Linked DNA regions of Homo sapiens: all the other regions are linked to region 1. The links are contacts of gene promoters, found by promoter capture Hi-C in blood cells and fetal thymus (Javierre and others, 2016). All regions are on one chromosome and are shown on one strand. Each heading gives the region's core, a stretch centred on a gene start or on the middle of the fragment in contact. The rest is flanking DNA. Distances are from core to core; before and after follow the strand shown. Region 1 holds the start of CDK11A (cyclin dependent kinase 11A). Region 2 holds the start of ATAD3A (ATPase family AAA domain containing 3A). Region 3 holds the start of TMEM240 (transmembrane protein 240). Region 4 overlaps SSU72 (SSU72 homolog, RNA polymerase II CTD phosphatase).

Region 1 (3,470 bases), core at 459-2,958:
CAGCTACTCGGCAGGCTGAGGCTCGCAGGATAATGGCGTTGAACCCGGGAGGTGGGGCTTGCAGTGAGCCGAGATTGCGCCACTGCACTCCAGCCTGGGCGACAGAGCAAGACTCCGTCTCAAAAAAAAATAAAAATAAAAAAATAGGGAGATTTCCCCAGTTACCAAGAACTCAGGAAGCAACATTAAGAGCTTGGGGGAGGCCAGGCGCGGTGGCTCACGCCTGTAATCCCAGCACTTTGGGAGGCAGAGGCAGGCTGATCACGAGGTCAGGAGATTGAGACCATCCTGGCTAACACGGTAAAACCCCGTCTCTACCGAAAATAAAAAAAAAATTAGCCGGGCATGGTGGCAGGCGCCTGTAGTCACAGGTACTCAGGAGCCTAATGCGGGCGAATGGAGTGGAGGCGGGAGAATGGCGTGAATCCGGGTGGCGGAGCTTCCAGTGACCCGAGATCGCGCCACTGCACTCCAGCCTGGGCAACAGAGCGAGACTCCGTCTCAAAAAAATAAAAATAAAAAAAGAGCTTGGGTACACAAAGCAAGCAGCATTTCATTCCGGGATGAAAAGAATTCCGATACCCATCGCCCTTCTTGGGCCCTTGTCAGTTTCTTGCCACATCTTTCATTTTCCCATTTCAGGCCCAGTAAATGCGGATGTTTATCTTCCATTGTTTGTTTCCTGAGATTCAGATGTCTAAAGCATTTTTCTGTGACTTTTCAAGGCAAGAGGAAAACCTGACATATGGAAAGGGAATTAATTGCTCGTTTTATCCTCTTCTCCTGCAATGCTCTGAATCCATGGGTTTGGAGTGGGGCCCTGGGAGTTGGGGGAAGCACCATACCCAGTGAGTCTGCACTTTGAGGACCCACTGCCAGTGTCAGCTTCAAAATCACATTGTAAAAGGCCCGGCGCGGTGGCTCACGCCTGTAATCCCAGCACTTTAGGAGGACGAAGCAGGCGGATCACTTGAGGTCAGGAGTTCGAGACCAGCCTGGCCAATATGGCGAAACCTCGTCTCTACCAAAAATATAAAAATTAGCCGGGCGTGGTGGCGCGGGCCTGTGGTTCCAGCTACTCGGGAGGCTGAGGCAGGAAAATTCCTTGAACCCGGGAGGAGGCTGCAGTGAGCCAAGACCACGCCACTGCACTCCAACCTGGGCGGCAGAGCAAGGCTCCGACTCAAAAGTAAATACATGAATAAATAAAATAAAATCACATCGTAAGAGCTCTCCCTGCTTTGTTTCTGAGTAAGGTTCAGAGTTAAATTCCGAGATCGGCCTTTACAAGACACACAGACCTGAGGCGCCTCACGAGGTAACCAGCAGGTAAATGGAGCGCGCTCCACCCACCCGCCACTAGGGGTCCCAGCGGTCAAGGGGGTGGAATGCGGGCGTCCATCGCGAAGGCATTCTGCTCGCAAGCCTTGGCACAGGCGCGGGCTTCGCTACCGGAAAAGTCCCGGTAGGATTCCGGAAGCCGGCCACGCGTTCCGCGCAGGCGCAAACTGCTCCAAAAGTCGGCGTCGCTCTGCTCGGCGCCCCGGCCCGCGCCGAAGTCGGAAGTGCAGCTCACGGCGCAGTTTCTTTTGGAGTCCTGGACCTGAGCAAGCGCTGTTTTATGCGTCATCATCCCGCGCAGACACAGGAAGTGCCGCACAGAGCGAGCCCCTGTCGTCTTGAGTTCTGGGCCAGAGGTCGGCTATTATATCATCATTAGGCGTCAACACAGGAAGTGAGGATACTTCTGGCGAGCGCCGGTTGCTGTTTCTTCTCAGGCTCAGGGACCGGCCGCGGCCCCGTAGGGGTGAGTTCCGACTGGGCGGACCAGGTGTGGGAGCGCGACGAGAACTGCGCACCGAGGTCTTTCTTCCGAGCAGGCCTCGGAGCGGGGCGGACCCGGGCCCGGGGGCGAGCGACACCCTCGCTTCCGCGGACAGTCTCATCCCGCACGGAACTTTGGGTGGTGGAGGCGGCGGGTCCAAACGCTGTCTGGAGCCAACGTCTGCCAGGCTGAACCTCAAGTGTGCGGGACTGAACCCGAGGAAATAGCCCAGTGCCCGGGTCAGGTGGCCTTGTTCGCGAGCACATCTCGGAGCATCTCCCCGGTCTCAAGGTGCAGCTGTCCAGTGTGCTAGTGGCTTCACGTAGTCCAAGCGGTCTTTCTAGCAGATTCTGACAGTAAAAGCAGTGTTTGATGAGTGGCAGGTCCTGAGTTAAGAGCCTTTAAACGGATGATCTTTAATCCGCGATCGATACTATCACGTAGGTGTTGTTATTCTGGTTGTACGGAAGACTGAACTGAGGTGAATTACGTTACCCAAGACCATACAAGAATGACAGAAACGAGACTTGATTTCAAGCGGTCATTTTTCAGAACCCATCACTCTTTTTTGTCGCCCATGCTGCAGCGCAGTGGCTGTTCACAAGCGCACTTCAGCCTGGAACTCCTGGGCTCAATCGGTCTCCCATCTCAGCTTGCAGAGTATATGGGACTACAGGCGCTCGCCACCTTGCCTGGCTTACAACTTATCATTCTTGTTTTTTTTTTTTTTTTTTTTTTTTTTTTTTTTTTTGAGACGGGGTCTTGCTGGAGTGCAGTGACGCGACCTCGGCTCACCGGAACCTCCGCCTTTCGGATTCAAGCGATTCTGCTGCCTCGGCCTCCCGAGTAGCTGGGATTACAGGCACCCGCCACCACGCCCAGCTAAGTTTTGTATTTTTAGTGGAGACAGGGTTTTCGCCGTGTTGGCCAGGCTGGTCTTGACCTCCCGACCTTGTGATCCACCCGCCTCAGCCTAGAGCTTACCTTTTTTTTTTTTTTTTTTTAACCAAGTCTTACTTTGTTATCTAGGCTGGAGTGCAGTGGCGCAGTCTTGGCTCATTGCAGCCTTGACCTCTCTGATTCAAGTGATCCTCCTGCCTCTAGCAGCCTCCTTCCTGTAGCTAGGAATACAGGCACGCGCCACCACACTGGGCTAACTTTTGTATTTTTTGTAGAGACGAGGTTTTGCCATGTTGCCCGGGCTGGTGTTGAACTCCGGAACTCCAGCGATCTGCTCGCCTCGGCCTCCCAAAGTGCTAGGGTTACCGTCTTGAGCCACTGCGCCGGGCACAACTTCTTATTCTTAATGAGGATTTATTCTGAATCCCTCAAAAGTGACTAGGTTCAAGTGTTCAGCACCATAGCTTGCTGTGTCCTGATGTAGGCTGAATTATTTTTCTTTTTGCAGTGTTTTAACTCAAATGGGTGATGAAAAGGACTCTTGGAAAGTGAAAACTTTAGATGAAATTCTTCAGGAAAAGAAACGAAGGAAGGAACAAGAGGAGAAAGCAGAGATAAAACGCTTAAAAAATGTAAGCCATATTTTTTTAAGTAAGTGGTTTTCTTAAAGGAGATTTAATTTCTTTGCCCTCATTTTTCCATTAGAACAACGCTTCTTCGGTGAAGTTCTTTTGTACTTCCAAAT
Region 2 (3,470 bases), core at 514-3,013, 210 kb after region 1:
TCCGCTGTCCTCCGAGGTGCCCTGAAGTCCAGCCCTTGATTCCCATCCTAACCTGATGGTTAAAATTACCGAGGAAGGCCATGAGCAGCGGCTCACGCCTGTCATCCCAGCGCTTTGGGAGGCCGAGGTGGGCGAATCACCTGAGGCCAGAATTCAAGACCAGCCTGAACAACATGGTGAGTGCTCACACCCTGAGGGCCTTGGGTCAGGGGTTTACTCAAGCTGAGCAGCACGGCCTGGCCTGTGGCTTCACAGACCTCGCCGTGCAAATGCTAACGTCTTCCAACAAGAAGTGCAAATCTGCTAGTCTCGTTAGAATCAAGTAACTCTCAAATACGCTTCCCTTGTTACGTGGAAACTGCTAGCAACCACCCAACAAACCCATCTACCCATCTGGCCACGCCTTGGCCTGTGCCACGTGGAGGCGGCAAGCGCAGAAGGATCCCGCACGCTCGGCGGTAACTGAAGACCACGGCCAGCCCCAGACCCTGACCCCTGTAACCTATGAGCGCCACCTCCGCACCGCTTTCCGCACCTGACCCGCTCCTGACAGCTGCAGAGGTGCAAACGGGTGACGGAAAGAGTCCGATCCTCCCGGCACGCGACACGGCTCCGGCCGGGGGTGCTCCGGGGGCGCAGTCTCGCCCGGGAAGTGGCTGCCGACAGCGGCGAGGAGCGGCAAGGGCCAGGGCTCCCGCTTCCCCGGCCCGTCCCGCCCGCCCGCCCGCGCCGCCCCGCCCCGCCGCACTCACGCGAGTGCTCCAGCTCGCGCGCCGCCTTGGCGGCGCGCTCCAGGCCGGTGGGGTCGAAGTTGCTCCATTTGTCCTTGGGCGCCGGCCGGTCTCCCAACCCGCGGTCCCCGCCGCCCTCGGCCCCGGGCTGCGCGGGCGGCAAAGGCGGCGGCGGCCCCGCGCCTTCACCCTTGGGGCCCTTGTTAATGCCGAAGAGCCACGACATGCTCGCACCGCCGCCGCCGCTACCGCCGCCGGGACCCCCACCCGAGTCTGACTCGCGCGCGGCTGGGAGCAGCCTCCACGCGCCGCGAGCCGGTGGTCACCGCCACTGCGCAGGCGCCACACACACCCCTTCCTCCCGGCGATAGAAGCGCGTAAGGGACACGCGCGCAGCCCTTGGATTGGCCCCGAGGACAGTGACGCCATAGCGACGGCGCCGCGACTGCCGAACAGGCTTTGGGAGCCAGCGGGGCGGGAGCGGCGAAGCATCTGGCTACGGGAGCCACGCCGGGACAAAATTCCCGAGGGACGTAGGCGAACCCAAGGCAGCGTCAGCCCCGCGCCGCATCCGCGTGGGCTCCGTTGCTAGGGGCTCCGTTGCTAGGGGCTCCGAGGAGTTCCGGCCTTGGCGGCAGCGGGTGGCAAGTTTCCAGGGAGCCCCAAGGTTCTCGATCCGTGCGGCGGGGCGCCCTGCGGTGAGTCCAGGACGCAGAGAAGAGTCTCGCGGGAACCTCACCCGAGGCGGCACCGGCGCCCGGGCAAGCCGAGCCCTTCCGCGATGAGTCGGCGCCCTGGGGTCGCTGCGCCAAGAGCTCAGGAGAGGCGCCTCCCCTCCTCGGTGTCTCCGCAGCCCGCACGGCCCTCCCGCCCAAGACCCCGGGGCGACCCCTTCCCGCGTGGCGGGGCCAGCGAGCTCCTCTTGCGGGGCGTGGACGGGGCCGGGGTGCCCGGGCAGGCGCCGCCCCGGAGCCCACGGTCCACGCGCTCCCAGCGGCCCTGACTTTCTCCTTGATGGAACTGGTTGACTTCACGGAATATATGGAGTGACTTTTCCCACTGGATTGGAAACTGTTTTAAGCCTGAATAATGTTAGATACAATGAGTTCTAAACTTCCCTTCAAAGAATCAGTATATCAGTATGTTCAGTCTTTGTCCTGCATTTTAAAGTCTACCTTCCTCGCAGTTTCAGTAAACAACCTTTTCCACCAGTTCTAGTCAGTAGTTGACATCTGTTGCCCTGGTCACCTGCTCCGTCCTAACTAATCCCGGTCTCCTGCTTTGACCTGAGTCACCTTTAGTTACCTGTCCCATAACCATTTTTCCCGCCAAACCACTCACCCCGCCACTCTGGCCCATACTCCTGCTCCCTTTAAAATAGCCAATGGGCACTAGTTTAGACTGTGCATTCTAACCCTAGCCAATAGGGGAACCACACAGCAGTAGGGGCTACCCGCGTCAGGAATAAGAACCCCTTCCCCTCCCTTGTCCAAGCGCTCGCCATTGCTCCATCTATGAGATGTCCCCTTCTATAGAAGTAAATTATCTAGCTGAGAAAAATTTATATTCGAGTTCTACTTCTTTGGCGGCACAGAAAATTTACATATAACACAGTGAGCTGCCGAGATCTCGTCACTGCACTCCAGTCTGGGCGACTGAGTCAGACTCTGTCAAAAAAAAAAAAAAAAGCCAGAAAATGCCGGCCAGGCGCGGTGGCTCACACCCGTAATCCCAGCACTTTGGGAGGCCGAGGTGGGCAGATCACCTGAAAACAGGAGTTTGAGACCAGCCGGGCCAACATGGTGAAACCCCTGTCAAAAATACAAAAATTAACCTGGGCATGGTGGCGTGCGCCTGTAATCCCAGCTACTCCGGAGGCTTAGGCGGGAAAACTGCTTGAACCCTGGAGGTGGAGGTTGAAGTGAGCCGAGATCAGGCCACTGCACTCCACCCTGGGCGAGCACGACTCCATCGCCAAAAAAAAAAGAAAAGAAAAAAAAAAGAAAAAGAAAACAGGGCAGGCGCGGTGGCTCACGCCTGTAACCCCGCCAGTTTGGGAGGCCGAGGCAGGAGGATTGCTTGAGCCCAGGAGTTGGAGACCAGCCTGGGCAACAAAGAGAGACCCCGTCTGTACCAAAAAAATAGGAGAGGAGGAGAAAAACCAAATGACTTCCCCAGCAATAGCCAGACGTCCCCCCACCCCCACCCCATGGCTGTAATCAAGGTTTTGGTTATTTATTTATTGAGAGGGTCTCACTCTGTCACCCAGGCTGGAGTGCAATGGTGCGATCTCAGCTCACTGCAACCTCTGCCTCCCATGCTCAGGCGATCCTCCTACCTCAGCCTCCAAGCCAAGAAGCTGGGACCACCGGCATGTGCCACCTGGCCCTTTTTTTTTTTTTTTTTTTTTTTAGAGGGAGTTTGACTCTTGTTGCCCATGCTGCAGTGCAATTCCATGGTCTCAGCTCAGTGCAACCTCCACTTCCCAGGCTCAAGTGATTCTCCTGCCTCAGCCTCCTGAGTACCTGGGATTTCAGGCACTTGCCACCACGGCCGGCTAATTTTTTTTTTTTTTTTTTTAGGAGAGATGGGGTTTCACCATGTTGGCCAGGCTGGTCTGGAACTCCTGACCTCAGGTGATCCACTCTCCTTGGCCTCACTGAGATTCCAGGCGTGAGCCACCGCGCCCAGCCCCATCATCAAGGTTTGCAGGGACTAGCTGCAAAGCGCGGGCAGGGG
Region 3 (3,470 bases), core at 401-2,900, 180 kb after region 1:
CTGGTTTCTGCTGGCTCAGGCCTGGCGTTTCCCTGGCGATCCAGGTGTTAGGGGGAGCAGACAGGCAGGAGTGGGCAAGGCCCTCACCACGGTCCTGTCCTTGCAGATCCAGCACACGGAAGACATGGAGAACGAGATCGACGAGCTGCTGCAGGAGTTCGAGGAGAAGAGTGGCCGCACCTTTCTGCACACCGTCTGCTTCTACTGAGCCCAGCGCCCGCATGGAGCCGCCTCTGGAGCTTCCTGTTGTTCATACTTTTTCCTTCCTGACATTTGTTTTTACTTACAGGTGTTCTGCTGGTGACGGTAGCATTACCCAAATAAACTGTGCATATGAAATGGGAGAGGAGATGCCAAAACGCCAGATGAAAGCAATCAAGTTTCTTCTTTTCCACTTTTACTTATGAGCAGGATATTGATTACAAAGTTTTTCTTCTTTAACCAAAAAGGAAAGACAACGGTTTGTGTGCACTTCCCGACATACCTGTGTCTTCGTGTGCCTGCCTTCCCTCCCTCCTCCCCACCGGGCCGGACTGTACAGAGCCCTGCTGCGGCGTGTTAGGAATGACCTGGAATTGTCAATAAACAGATGCTGCTGTCATTGTGCCTGGTCCTGAATTCCTGGCCCGACCCTCGCCCCTGAGGAGGTGGCAGAGGCCTAGCCCTGCCGCCCTCAGTGACCTCCGACCACTGCTTGGGAGGAGTAGCTCAGACCTGGTGGTGCTGACAGGGTCTGGGCCTACCCGTGCCTGTGCTGCCTGAAGCGGAAGCCGCCTGCTCCTGCCACAACTGCTGCCTGTGGTGGAGCGGCGTCCCCTCTCCATGTGGAACCCCCCCGGGCGGGGATCCCCCAAGGCCAGCTACGGGGGAGGCTGAGCCGGGAGGATCGCCTGAGCCCAGGAGTGGAGGCTGCAGTGAGCCTGGATGGCGCCACGACCCAGGCTGGGTCCCAGGCATAGCTTCCCGCTGACTTCCTGCTGAGGCCGGGGGTCGGCTCCCGGGCCTGAGACATGGTCACCGGTCGTGGATGAGAGTTTGGCCTCAGGACCCCGAGCCAGGGACAGCCACAGCGGAGTGGTGGCCACTGGGCCTCTGAATGGCCGGCGTCCCGACCCATGGGCCTGGGCTGACCCCCTCGTCCCCGCCCTAAGGGAAGCCTGTGCGGGGCGGCCCTGCCCTCGGCTCCTGTGCCACATCCCTCCGTTGAGGATTCCAGGGGTCATCCCGTCCCTGACCTGTGGCCCCCACGGCCGTGGGGCTGTCGCGACCTTGCGGACCCCACCCTGGAGGCACGTGCGTGCCGAGCGGACTGGGGCAGTCCCGCACCCGGCGACCTGGGAGTCCAGGACGTAGGGCGGAGCAGTGGGGCGGGAAGGGCCTCGGCGCCCCTCCAGGACCGGAGGACTGGCGTCCAGGGTCACCGGACAGGCCACCGGGGCTGGGTCTGACCAGACTGGGGCGGGACGCGAAGCCGAGGCTCCCGGGGAGGGGTCCCGGCCGGCGTCCGGGGGATGGCGGTCTCCTCCCGGCGCTGGCACGGGGCGGCCTGCGGTCTGCGCGGTCCCTCCCGAGAGGCGGAGGAAGGCGGCGGGGAGGGAGGGGGGAGGAGGGAGGAGGAGGCAGGGAGGGGGCCGGAGCCGAGCGGAGCCGAGTCGAGCCGAGCCGAGCGCATCGCAGGGAGGACCCGAGGGCGGAGCGGAGCGCGGCGGGCCGGGCCGAGAGACCCCAGAAAGGCCCCGCGTCCCTCCCCGGCGCCCCCCCCCCCGCGCCTCCTCCCCCCGGCCGGTGCCGGGGTTGCAGCGAGCGGCGGCGGACGATCCAGGGAAGCGCTGACCTCTGCGGAGGCGGCGGGGGCTCAGCATCGGGCCGGGGCCGGGGGGGCGCCGGGGCCGGGGGGCGGCGCTCCGGCCCGGCCCGGCCCCGCCCGATGTCCATGAGCGCGAACACCATGATCTTCATGATTCTGGGGGCGTCGGTCGTGATGGTGAGCGGAGGGGCTTCCCGCGCGCGCCCCCTGCTCCCCGCCCGCGCGCGCCGCCTGGCCCACCTCCCGCGCCTTGTTTACCGCCCGTGCGGCCTGCGCTCCCCTCCCCGGCCTGCGCTCCCCTCCCCGGCCTGCGCTCCCCTCCCCGGCCTGCGCTCCCCCACCCCGGCCTCCGCTCCCCTCCCCAACCTGCGATCCCCACACTCCCTACGCTCCTCTCTCCGGCCTACGCTCCCCCCACCCCGGCCTGCGCTTCCCCCTCCCCGGCCCGCGGTCCCCTCCCGGGCCTGCGCTCCCCCCACCCCGGCCTGCGCTCCCCTCCCCAGCCTGCGATCCCCATACCCGCTGCGCTCCCCCTACCAAGGCCTACGCTCCCCTCACCCCGGCCTGCGCTCTCGCTCCCCGCTTGCGCTGCCCCGACCCCGGCCTGCGCTCCCCACCCCCAGCCCCGCTTCGTCCCGCCCGCTCCTTGGCGCTGACCGGTCATGAGCTCTTCCAGGCCATCGCGTGCTTGATGGACATGAACGCGCTGCTGGACCGATTCCACAACTACATCCTCCCGCACCTGCGGGGCGAGGACCGCGTCTGCCACTGCAACTGTGGCCGGTGAGTCCACAACCGGCGCCGGCTCGACACGCGTGAGCGCACATGTGTGGCGGGGCCCACTCGGGGCGCGGGGGAACCAGCCCCACGCAGGCCGCGAGCCGCCTTCCACCCTTGAGGGCTGCCAGGTGCGCAGGGGGAGGAGCTGTCTCAAGGTGGGCGGGGGTCTCCTGGGGGCGCATGGCTTTAGGACGCCGTTCCTAGAGGCCTCCAGGGTGATGGCGGAATGGGTCACGGGGCCTCCTGGTCCAGCCTGGAGGCCGGAAAGCCGCAGCCCAGTGTGATGTCCACAGTGGAGACCCAAGCCAGCCTCATCAGGGCTGGGGCAGGAAGCGCCTGCTGGCACAGGGCTGGGCCCTGCACTGAGTCCCTGGGCAGGGGAATGCAGGTCAAGGCGGGAAGGGCCTGCCTTGAGGGGCACTGGGCACCACCCCCGGGCTGGAGAGGAGCTGAGGGATGGGCTGGGGGGGCAGCGGGGAGGTGGAGCTTCCTCAAGGTCATTCAGATTGAGGGGAGCGCCCAGACCCCCCGCACCCACCGTGTGACCCCCTCTGTGCACGTGTAGCGATGGGATCCTCTTGGCCATGCATGTTTGTACGTCCATGTACGAAATAAACATCTTCTCATGAGACGCGCATGTGTGTGGCGTCTGTGCATATACATGTGCGTACACACAGCCCCCGCGCACGCACGCATGCACTTCCACCCCTCAGGACACCCTCACGCAGTGGCCGCTGTTAACCCTGCTGAACAGATGAGGAAGTGGACGGAGGATTTAGAGGACAGGCTTTTCCAAGGTCACACAGCTAGTGAAGGACAAAGGGGGCACCAGCCCAGAACCCGTGTTCGTCATCTCTGCTGCCTCCTGCTCCGGGGGTCTCTG
Region 4 (3,470 bases), core at 411-2,910, 170 kb after region 1:
GAGGCAGGAGAATCACTTGAACCTGGGAGATGGAGGTTGCCGTGAGCCGAAGTTGCACCATTGCACTCCAGCCTGGGCAACCAGAATGAAACTGTCTCCAAAAATAAAATACAAAAAGTAGCTGGGTGTGGTGGCGTGTGCCTGTAATCCCAGCTGCTCAGGTGGCTGAGGCGGGAGGGTCACTTGAACCCAGGAGGCAGAGGCTGCAGCGAGCTGAGATTGTGCTGTTGGACTCCAGCCAGGGTAGTAATAATAGTAGTAGTGTATATACCTGGACCAGGGACGGGGATCTAAGCTCCCCTGACCTTTGTAGACAAATGGGAACTCTACTGTGTAGGTTCTTTCCTTGGGTGGACTGACCGTTTTATCAAGAATTGTTTTTATTGAGATAAAATGTACAAATCATGCACTTCCCTGAGTCGCGTGTCCAGTTCTGTGGGTTTCAGGACATTCATGGAGTTGCAGCCGTCACCACAATTGGTTTTGAGACGCTTTTCGTCTCCCAAGGCCGTTTGCTGCTGCCCATTCTCCTCCCAGTGCCTGTAGCAGCTTCCCGTGCTACAGGTCCGCCCGTTCCACACCGTCCAGTTTAGCTGCTTCCCGTGCTACAGGTCTGCTCATTCCACACTGTCCAGTTCATATGCAGCCTTTTGTTCTTTCGCTGAGCATGCGTGGAACTATTTCTAAGTCCCAGGTTTCTTTGCCATGACTTTTCCTCGCTCAGCCTCAGTGGCACGTGGAGTAGAGCAGCTTTGCGCTGGGTGTCCTGCCGAGGGGCTTGAGCCTGGCTCCCAGGGTCACGTGCAGAGGCTTCTCTATTTTTTTTCATTTTACACTGAAGCCACTTTCCATAGTTGAGCTTTCTTGCAGGATTTTTTCATTTTTGATTGAAAGGAGTCTGGTTAAGCCATCCCAAGCTTGCTTGGAGTGCCTTTGGGGAGAAGACAAGTGACTTCTGTTTCTAAGTTAGTGAATGGCCAGTCTGACCTAGTGAAGTGTCACTCAGCCCAGTGAGGGGGTCCAGGCAACAGCCGCTGGCCCAGAGGGTAGAGGAGGAGGGAGAGGCCGTTGTGAAAGGAGGGCTGGGGTGGCAGACACCGGCCTGGACAGTTCCCCCGCTCCAGGGAAGCCCATTCAGCCACATGAGAAGGTGTGTGGGAGTCTCACAGGATCCTACAGAAAGTTCATCCTGTGTACATGTAAGTTAGTGAAGGTTTACCAGCTTTTTGTGTTATGAACTGCAAAACCACTTGTCTTCAAAAGCAAGTAAACGTGTAGCTCTAAATGTTAATGTGACTGTTGTCCTGTGAAACGCAAGTGCATCTGACACTTTCCTGGGTCTCGTCTGGCCGTGCAGCTGGAGACCAAGCCTGTGTCTGGCATATACTGTTTGTACCTCTCTTGTGGATTTTTTTCTAATTACCTAATTTTTTCTAATGACGTTTGGGGTTTGGATTATTATTATTATTTGGTTTTGAGACAGGGCGTCTCTCTGTCGTGTGGGCTGCAATGCAGTGGTGCTGTCACAGCTCACTGCAGCCTGGGCATCCCAGACTCAGGTGGGTGATCCTGCCACGTCACCCTCCCCAGTAGCTGGGACCAGAGGCCTATGCCATGCCCAGCTTTTTTTTTTTTTTTTAATTGAGACAGAGTCTCACTCTGTTGCCCAGGCTGGAGTGCAATGGCACGATCTTGGCTCACTGCAACCTCCGACCCTGGGTTCAAGCGATTTTCCTGCCTCAGCCTCCCGAGTAGCTGGGATTTCAGGCATGTGCCACCACGCCTGGCTAATTTTTGTACTTTTAGTAGAGATGGGGTTTCACCATGTTGGCCAGGCTGGTCCTGACCTCATGTGATGAGCCCGCCTTGGCCTCCCAAAGCTCTGGGATTATAGGGGTTGCCACTGCACCTGGCCTGTGTTTTAAATTGCACATTTGTTCATGTCCGTCCTCTGAATTCATTGTCTTTTAGGTTAACTTCTGTGTGTGGCCACTTCCCTGTGGACATTTCCTTGTCTCAGAGTAAAATGTGGTAGACTTCTTTTTTGAGATGGAGTCTCAGTCTGTCACCCCTGCTGGAGTGCAATGGCGTGATCTCGGCTCACTGCAATCTTTGCCTCCCGGGTTCAAGCGATTCTCCTGCCTCAGCATCCTGAGTAGCTGGGATTACAGGTGCGGCGTACCACCACGCCTGGCTAATTTTGGTATTTTTAGTAGAGATGGGGTTTCACCACGTTGGCCAGACATGTCTCAAAACACCTGACCTCCGGTGAACCACCTGTTTTGGCCTTCCAAAGTTTTGAGATTACAGGTGTGAGCCGCTGTGTCCGGCCCCATATATATATATATGCTAATTCAGATGAATAGTATAGTTCCCAAAAAGGAAATGCTGATATGAAGCTTTATTTATTTATTTATTTATTTACTTTTTTGAGACAGAGTCTTGTTCTGTCGCCCAGGCTGGAGTGCAGTGGTGCAATCTCGGCTCACTGCAACCTCCGCCTCCCAGGTTCAAACGATTCTCCTGCCTCAGCCTCCTGAGTAGCTGGGATTATAGGCATGCACTGCCACACCCGGCTAATTTTTGTATTTTTAGTAGAGACAGGATTTCACTATGTTGGCCAAGCTGGTCTTGAACTGCTGACCTCAAGTGATTCACCCGCCTCGGCCACCCAAAGTCCTGGGATTACAGGTGTGAGCCACTGCGTCCCGCCCAGCAGCTGTGTTTTAAAATAGTTTTGGGAAGGTATTTGTCAAACAAATGAATGTGTTCCTAAGCCAGACGCCGATTCCCAGAGAAACTCTGATCGTGGGTTTTAGAAAATCATTCATGCCTAAAATGTAAATTACGGCCTTAAGATATTTCAGGTAAGGCCAGAGATACTGGCCTGCTCTTCTCATCTGAGATGACAGAGGTAGAACGGAGCTGACTGGCTGAGGTAGTTGCTGGTGGTCATTTGAGGGTCTGGACAGAATGCAGCTGTGCTGACTGTGCCTTCGTCTTCAAGAGGTAGCCCAGGGTCAGGGCCCACAAGCCTGTGAGTTTTCACCTAGTCTGCAGCAGGTGAGATGCTTTTGCAAAGTAGTTTCACGGTGCCTGCAGTCGCAAGGCCATGGTGGACCCCCCCAGAGCTGGCCTGAGCCTTGTGTGGCTCTGTGTTGAGGCCACGGTTACAGTTGGGTGCCCAGCAGCTCCAGAGATGGCCATGAGACCTTTTCGAGGGGTTCCTGAGTTCTGTTTGTGCAGCCTCTGTGCTTTGCCAAAAAAGCATTCGCTATCAAAATGAAATTTTTTTTTTTTTGAGACAAGAGTTTTGCTCTTTTTGCCCAGGCTGGAGTGCAATGGCGTGGTCTTGGCTCACTGCAAGCTCCACTTCCTGGGTTCAAGCGATTCTCCTGCCTCAGCCCCCGCAAGTAGCTGGGATTACGGGCGCCCCCCACCACGTCCGGCTAATTTTTTGTATTTTTAGT

The links. The method cuts DNA at HindIII sites, captures the fragments that hold promoters and counts their contacts. A CHiCAGO score of 5 or more calls a contact.
Region 2: a contact is called between a fragment that was not itself captured here and the fragment with the promoter of CDK11A in region 1, in 4 of 17 cell types (M1 macrophages, activated CD4 T cells, M2 macrophages and 1 more). The highest score is 5.7, in M1 macrophages.
Region 3: the fragment with the promoter of TMEM240 here is called in contact with the fragment with the promoter of CDK11A in region 1 in 5 of 17 cell types (M2 macrophages, M1 macrophages, M0 macrophages and 2 more); the score reaches 7.4 in M2 macrophages.
Region 4: a contact is called between a fragment that was not itself captured here and the fragment with the promoter of CDK11A in region 1, in 14 of 17 cell types (naive CD8 T cells, M1 macrophages, M2 macrophages and 11 more). The highest score is 9.8, in naive CD8 T cells.

Annotation. Positions count from the first base shown.
Region 1 is chr1:1,722,595-1,726,064 of GRCh38, reverse strand. It overlaps CDK11A (cyclin dependent kinase 11A), which reads left to right and starts at 1,708. Exons shown (of 20, transcript NM_024011.4): 1 at 1,708-1,807; 2 at 3,234-3,357. The coding sequence starts at 3,247. RefSeq lists enhancers at 776-1,615, 1,596-1,825. The HindIII fragment of the contact is 24,282 bases long and covers 1-3,470 here.
Region 2 is chr1:1,509,756-1,513,225 of GRCh38, reverse strand. ATAD3A (ATPase family AAA domain containing 3A) reads right to left here and starts at 1,064. Exons shown (of 16, transcript NM_001170535.3): 1 at 753-1,064. The coding sequence starts at 957. RefSeq lists silencers at 947-1,106, 1,557-1,756 and an enhancer at 1,257-1,316. The HindIII fragment of the contact is 8,392 bases long and covers 1-3,470 here.
Region 3 is chr1:1,538,804-1,542,273 of GRCh38, reverse strand. TMEM240 (transmembrane protein 240) reads left to right here and starts at 1,650. Exons shown (of 4, transcript NM_001114748.2): 1 at 1,650-1,984; 2 at 2,484-2,590. The coding sequence starts at 1,928. It overlaps SSU72 (SSU72 homolog, RNA polymerase II CTD phosphatase), which reads left to right. Exons shown (of 5, transcript NM_014188.3): 5 at 107-601. The coding sequence ends at 208. RefSeq lists a silencer at 2,771-3,065. The HindIII fragment of the contact is 17,050 bases long and covers 1-3,470 here.
Region 4 is chr1:1,556,374-1,559,843 of GRCh38, reverse strand. The region is part of intron 2 of SSU72 (SSU72 homolog, RNA polymerase II CTD phosphatase); the gene reads left to right. Among named protein-coding and RNA genes, the nearest start is that of SSU72, 17 kb to the left of the region's middle. The HindIII fragment of the contact is 1,482 bases long and covers 920-2,401 here.